Linked DNA regions of Homo sapiens: region 2 is linked to region 1. Evidence: promoter capture Hi-C in 16 types of primary human blood cells and fetal thymus (Javierre and others, 2016). All regions are on one chromosome and are shown on one strand. Each heading gives the region's core, a stretch centred on a gene start or on the middle of the fragment in contact. The rest is flanking DNA. Distances are from core to core; before and after follow the strand shown. Region 1 holds the start of H2BC12 (H2B clustered histone 12). Region 2 holds the start of TRIM38 (tripartite motif containing 38).

Evidence for each region. Contacts are between HindIII fragments. The CHiCAGO score rates a contact against its expected background, and 5 or more counts as called.
Region 2: a contact is called between the fragment with the promoter of TRIM38 here and the fragment with the promoter of H2BC12 in region 1, in 13 of 17 cell types (activated CD4 T cells, total CD4 T cells, non-activated CD4 T cells and 10 more). The highest score is 23.3, in activated CD4 T cells.

The regions. Positions count from the first base shown.
Region 1 is chr6:27,145,192-27,148,407 of GRCh38, reverse strand. It overlaps H2BC12 (H2B clustered histone 12), which reads left to right and starts at 1,553. Exons shown (of 1, transcript NM_001312653.2): 1 at 1,553-2,047. The coding sequence starts at 1,610. The coding sequence ends at 1,990. It overlaps H2AC12 (H2A clustered histone 12), which reads right to left and starts at 1,302. Exons shown (of 1, transcript NM_080596.3): 1 at 846-1,302. The coding sequence starts at 1,279. The coding sequence ends at 893. It overlaps MIR3143 (microRNA 3143), which reads right to left and starts at 782; the gene lies at 720-782. RefSeq lists enhancers at 916-1,165, 1,496-1,955, 1,210-2,126, 2,546-2,655. The HindIII fragment of the contact is 2,078 bases long and covers 663-2,740 here.
Region 2 is chr6:25,960,836-25,964,051 of GRCh38, reverse strand. It overlaps TRIM38 (tripartite motif containing 38), which reads right to left and starts at 1,250. Exons shown (of 8, transcript NM_006355.5): 1 at 1,197-1,250; 2 at 770-1,003. The HindIII fragment of the contact is 6,907 bases long and covers 1-3,216 here.

The sequences.
Region 1 (3,216 bases), core at 304-2,803:
TCCAAAGAAATGGGACTAAGGATTTACAAATATGGGATTCAGGAAATTCTGCATCCCATATTCTCCTTCCATCGGAATCAAATTCTAATGCAAATGAGTCACTAGACTTTCATCACCTGGGTAAAGTTACTCTTAAGAGTTAGACCACTTAAGAATCAGGCTGCCCTTTCTTGCTTTTCAAGAATACTTAGAATTGCAAAATTTGCCTTTAAAGAATGGCAAGTATATCCCATTTTTATGGCTGTTTGACAACACTATTAATGTAATAGAATTATTACACTGGAGGCCGGGCGCTGTGGCTCACGCCTGTAATCCCAGCACTTTGGGAGGCCGAGGCGGGCGGATCACCTGAGGTCAGGAGTTCGAGACCAGCCTGGCCACCATGGTGGAACCCCGTCTCCACTAAAAATACAAAAAAACTAGCCGGTCGTGGTGGTGTGTGCCTGTAATCCCAGCTATTCGGGAGGCCGAGACAGGAGAATCGCTTGAACCTGGGAGGTGGAGGTTGCAGTGAGCCGAGATCGCGCCGCGCCACTGCACTCCAGCCTGTTGGAGACTCCATCTCAAAAAAAAAAAAAAAAAAAAAAAAACCACTGGAATTAGTAAATAGATTTCAGGGATTTGTACGTTTGATTTCACTTATTACCCCTGCTGAATAAGCTTCTCCGGAGTATCCTACAACAACTTTTGGGTCTTCATTGCTTTCCAGTGGGTTAATTTAGAAACATTGTAAAGAGTTGCTCCAGCCCAACCGCGAAAGAAGCGCTTTACAATGTTATCTAGCGAAGCAAACATGAAGTGAAACAAACATGACTGTGTCCAGCTTTCTCTAAGACAGTGTAGAATGGCTCTGAAAAGAGCCTTTGTTTTCCAGTTTTCACAACCTCGCTCCTTATTTGGCCTTATGGTGGCTCTCAGTCTTCTTAGGCAGCAGCACGGCCTGGATATTGGGCAAGACACCACCCTGCGCGATGGTGACTTTGCCCAGCAGCTTGTTGAGCTCCTCGTCGTTGCGGATGGCCAGTTGGAGGTGACGCGGGATGATACGGGTCTTCTTGTTGTCGCGGGCCGCATTGCCAGCCAGCTCCAGGATCTCAGCGGTCAGGTACTCCAGCACCGCAGCCAGGTACACTGGCGCGCCGGCTCCAACCCGCTCGGCATAATTACCCTTGCGGAGCAGGCGGTGCACTCGGCCCACGGGGAACTGAAGCCCAGCCCGAGAAGAGCGGGTCTTGGCCTTGGCGCGAGCTTTACCGCCTTGCTTGCCACGTCCAGACATACTGGTCACAACTTACTGAAAGTAGCCAACGAGGAAAGGCAGCGCCTTTTATAAACACTATTGGGCGCGAAAAAGAAGATATGTCATTGGTTAGGGTTGTAGCTTAGTTTTAACCAATGGAAGTACGTCTTTTGGATTTGCAGATTGGGTTGATTGGGTATAACTAACCTCTGACGTCACCCTAATAACCACCAATCAGATACAGGACTTTCACTCTTCACCTTATTTGCATGAGAGGTCCTATATAAAAACGACTCCTGGTACCTTGCTCCCATTACTTCCCGTTTTCTCGATCTGCTGCTCGTCTCAGGCTCGTAGTTCGCCTTCAACATGCCGGAACCAGCGAAGTCCGCTCCCGCGCCCAAGAAGGGCTCGAAGAAAGCCGTGACTAAGGCGCAGAAGAAGGACGGCAAGAAGCGCAAGCGCAGCCGCAAGGAGAGCTACTCCGTATACGTGTACAAGGTGCTGAAGCAGGTCCACCCCGACACCGGCATCTCCTCTAAGGCCATGGGAATCATGAACTCCTTCGTCAACGACATCTTCGAACGCATCGCGGGTGAGGCTTCCCGCCTGGCGCATTACAACAAGCGCTCGACCATCACCTCCAGGGAGATCCAGACGGCCGTGCGCCTGCTGCTGCCCGGGGAGTTGGCCAAGCACGCCGTGTCCGAGGGCACCAAGGCCGTCACCAAGTACACCAGCGCTAAGTAAACTTGCCAAGTAAGCGTCTTAAAGCCCAACCCCAAAGGCTCTTTTAAGAGCCACTTAAATTATCGATATTAGAGCTGTAAACACGTGTTCCTAATCCAGGCTTAAATTCGGGCGATCTTTTTAAAGGGATTATCATGATCTTATCACACTGAGTAATGCATGCAGTGCTTGTAATCGAGTCTGGCTAAGGAGAAGCCACATACACTTTGTTAGTACTGAGTGAGGAATATGGCGCCTAAAAAATTAGGGATGTGCAGGAAACTTGTGTTAACAGAAAGTGCTTCCTGGCTCTTGGCGCGAAAATGGATACTTCCGTTGTGTCGAGTGCTGTGACTTCCTGTTAGAACTTGTTGAAAGCCTATTGTGTCACGTGTACTTTCCACCATGTAATGGCGTTCTAACGTGAGTTTATATATTAGTAAATTTGGTTCCCGATGGCGTTCCAGTACGTATGGCTTTCGCTCGAGCAGTTACCTTATTTAACCTCTTCTAGGCTGTACCCAGCTCTGCCTTGCTTTGCTTCCCCCTCACCCCCTGATTCCATCTCTGCAGCCCACGGGACATCGGGAAGATGCCAGACCACCAGGCAGGATAGTCTGCAAGGGTAAGGGGAGGAGCACAGCTTTTCTCAGGAGTGAAGAAACGGAACATGAAATCATCACGGAGATTTTTGGAATAGTTTACTAGTTTTTAAGGCATGTTCAGCGTCAATTGGTCCAATCAGTAATTTTTCCTTTTGACAAGAAAGCTTATAGAAAAGGAAAATGAAAAGCAAGTAGATTCAGAGGGGAGACAACAGACAGACTAGAGACAGTCCGCCCCGAAGCAAGAAGTTGGAGTAGAGGAGAAGGGAACTTCCCCAGCAGCACAGGGTTTGAGCTAAGTGTTAGGTGGTGGGTTAGAATTAGGTGGTGGGTTTTATTGTGTGATTAGAGGCTAGAATGACTATGCCGGTGATGAGCAGTGTGAAACTTTTTTGGAAGAACCAAGTGAAAGAAAGAGTCCACGAATTTTAAGCTAGGTTGTTACCTGGCTAAATTTGTGATTTAGAAATGTAGGCCAGTTTCACAGGGGAATTTTGTGTGTGTGTGTGTGTGTGTGTGTGTGTGTGTGTGTGTGTGTATTTAACATATTTGGCCACGCATTGTTCTAGTCTTTGGGGATATTGCCCGCCCTTAGGCATTTGGAGATTAGCAGGGTCATATTGAAAAACTTCATACATGCAA
Region 2 (3,216 bases), core at 1-2,500, 1.2 Mb after region 1:
TGTTCCCTTGGCTCCTACACCATCATGACAATAAAATTTGACTCCACCTCGACCCCCCCCATCCCCCACAAAGAACAACAACCAACACTGGTTAATAAGGTCGGTTGTTTTTTGTTTGTGTTTTTGTTGTTGTTGTTTTTGCTTTCAGGAGCAGAGGTATAATAGGCAAAAGAAAGAGAAAGGAGAATAGTGAATACCTCTTCTGCAGAGAGGGGTGCCTAAGTGGGACTTCCCTGGCTAATAACGTCTTGCTAGAGACCCAACCAGGAGGATAATGGAAGCAATCAAGGCAACCAGAACAACCAGAAGAACCGGTTTATCCTTTTTGTGCCCTCTCCCTAAACTGAGGGAATAAGAATTGGAAAGAAGGCTGCAGAGCAGAGGGTTTGCTCCTGAGGAGCAGTTATTTCTATGGGATCAGAGCTCCTGCAGAACTGGGGAGTTTACTTTTACTATCTCTTCTCCAGGACAGGACCTATCTCAAGAGACATGTTCAGAGTGATTGCAACATAAAGAGTTTGCAGACCCAAGGAGGTAGGGAAGGCAGAAAGAAGATGGGGGAGGCCAGGGATAGGCAACAGAGGAGTGACCAGGAGCGAAAAAGCCTGCCTCTTCTGAGAACCTAGCTGGGCTCTCCCTGTACCCCCGATCCCTCCCCCCCGCCCGCCCCCACACCCCTACTCCTGGGAGCTCCTCTAGGACAGGGGCAGAGTCAGGAGGAAGTTTGAAGAGTGCCTAGAATAAAAAACAGTAATTTAACTACAATTACCGGGTAGGCTGTTTTCCTCTCACAATTTGATCAGTCTCTTGAAGCCACACAGAATTTCTTCTGAAGACGTGTATTCCTTGGCAGGCTATTTCCTCCAGTGATACACCAGGCCCCTCTCTGCTGGGGTCACTGCTCTTCTGGGGAGATGGGGCTCCCCTCCTTCCAAGGCTCCAGGGTTCCTGTCCTGGGCCCCACTCATCTAAGTTCTGAATCTTCTGAGATTTGGTGTAAAGTCTGGTGAAAGAAAGAGCAGGAAAGAGGTGAGAGCTGTAAAACAAAGAAAGTCCTGACCATTTTCAGAGTTGGAGGGGCCCTGCTGTCACGAAATATATTCCCCACCCCACTTGCCATCAGTACACACTCACATATCCACTGAGAAAACCTTAGCCTGGACCTTTTCCGTAACCTTCACTGCTCAGACACTTACATATTCGCTGCTAGTCCCCTCTGTTGCTGCCACTTCCTGGGTCAGGAAGTTAACTCAGACCGGATTAAACTGAGAAGTGAAACTACTGTGGGAGGCGGGGCTCATAAGATTTAGGAGAAAACTAGTGACGTTGTTCATATCATTTGCACTCCGCCTCTCCGGTAAAGGAGGGGGAAACGTAGGAAGAAAATATCCTTCTTTTACAGCAATAAAAAGAAGGAACCAATTAATAACCCTGTAAACTATCATGTGACCCCAACACAGAGTATCTAAAAACAGGAAGCCTGCAGAGGTTCAGTTCACAGACTCTGATTTGAGATCTTTCTACTTTTGCCACCAACTCCCTTGGGAGTCCTTAAGCCTTCCTAGCTGATGTTACTTCTTTTGCTATTTATGGGTTGCTTGTGGTTCTATAACTGCTCTGAAGGGTGTGGTGGAAAAAGGGGTGGTAACAGCAGTAGGACTCATTGGCATCACAAAATTCATCTGAGTCAGCTTTCTATTCTTCTCTGTCCCGTTCTGTGTCTTGTTTTTCTCCTTGCTGTCCTTCTGCAGGACTCAGATCTTCTTCAATAGCGAGGGTCAGCCAGGATAGAAAATGGGAGTCACTAGTGGCCCAGCAGTGAGTGCCCCCAGCTTAGAGCTGTGTGGGATCCCTGGGACCATCACTCTGCTTTGTGCTTTGTGGAGAAAAGGCTGTGGGGTCCAGGGTCAAGTCCTTAATGACTTAGCTCCAGCTTCTCCACTTCAAAATGAAAGGAAAAGTACTATCACCACCCGTTAGAATTATTATTTCATGGGGAAAAAAGATGGATTACTATCTCACAATAAGAGCTTGTCACATTTATAAGTCTCAGGTGTAAGAGGCATTTATGATAACAACATAATAAATGCTGGCTTAAGTAGATGCAGTGGTCCAAGGGAACCAGTAAGGGGAGCTCAGGACACAGGTGGGAGGAGAAATTAAACTTGAATTCTGGGAGCCACTGGCCTGTCTGGGCCCCTGGCCTGCCTGCTGACCCTGATAGCCAATGGAACATGGAGTTTGGCCCAGCTGCAATCCCTCTGGTCCAACTACTCAAAATAAAGGCAAGATTGGGAAACACGTTCCTTTCTTCCTATACCAAGCAGAAGACTCTTCAGCACTGCACCCTCCTGGGTGCTCACAGAGCCTTCTGTTGTTTTGCCACCTACGATTCATCATGCCCTGGCATGATGGTTGCAGACCCCATGCATAGCATGGGACATTCTACTCCTGAGGCAACCAGCACACAGAGAGAGGAGAAAGAATGAGCCCCTGAATCCTTGGTCCCACGATGAGTCCTTGCAGATATCTACAACTTTCATTGTTGTGGATGTGACTCTGTACCCAGGCATGGCTCATTCCAGATCTGTCCTATTGTCAGAGGTGTTCAAACCAGAATGACTCCATTTTGAATGGGGGCTAGGTAAAATAAGGCTGAGACCTACTGGGCTGCATTCCCAGGAAGTTAGGCATTGTAAGTCACAGGATGAAATAGGCAGTTGGCACAAGACACAGGTCATAAAGATCTTGCTGATAAAACAGGTTGCAGTAAAGAAGCTGACCAAAACCCACCAAAATCAAGATGGCAACAAGAGTGGCCTCTAGTCATTCTCATTGCTCATTATACACGAATTATAATGTGTTAGCAAGTTAGAAGGCATTCCCACCAGCTCCATAGTGGTTTATAAATACCATGGCGATGTCAGGAAGCTACCCTATATAGTCTAAAAAGGGGAGGAACGCTTGGTTCTGGGAATTGCCCACATCTTTCCCAGAAAACATATGAATAATCCACTCCTTGTTTAGTACATAATCAAGAAATAACTGTAAGTATCTGTATTAGTCCATTTTCACACTGCTGATCCAGACATACCTGAGACTGAGTAATTTATACCAGGAAAAAATGTTTCATGCTCTTACAGTCCCACGTGTCTGGGGAGACCTCACAACCACAGCAGAAGGCAAGGAGGAGCAAGTCAGGTCTTACATGGATGG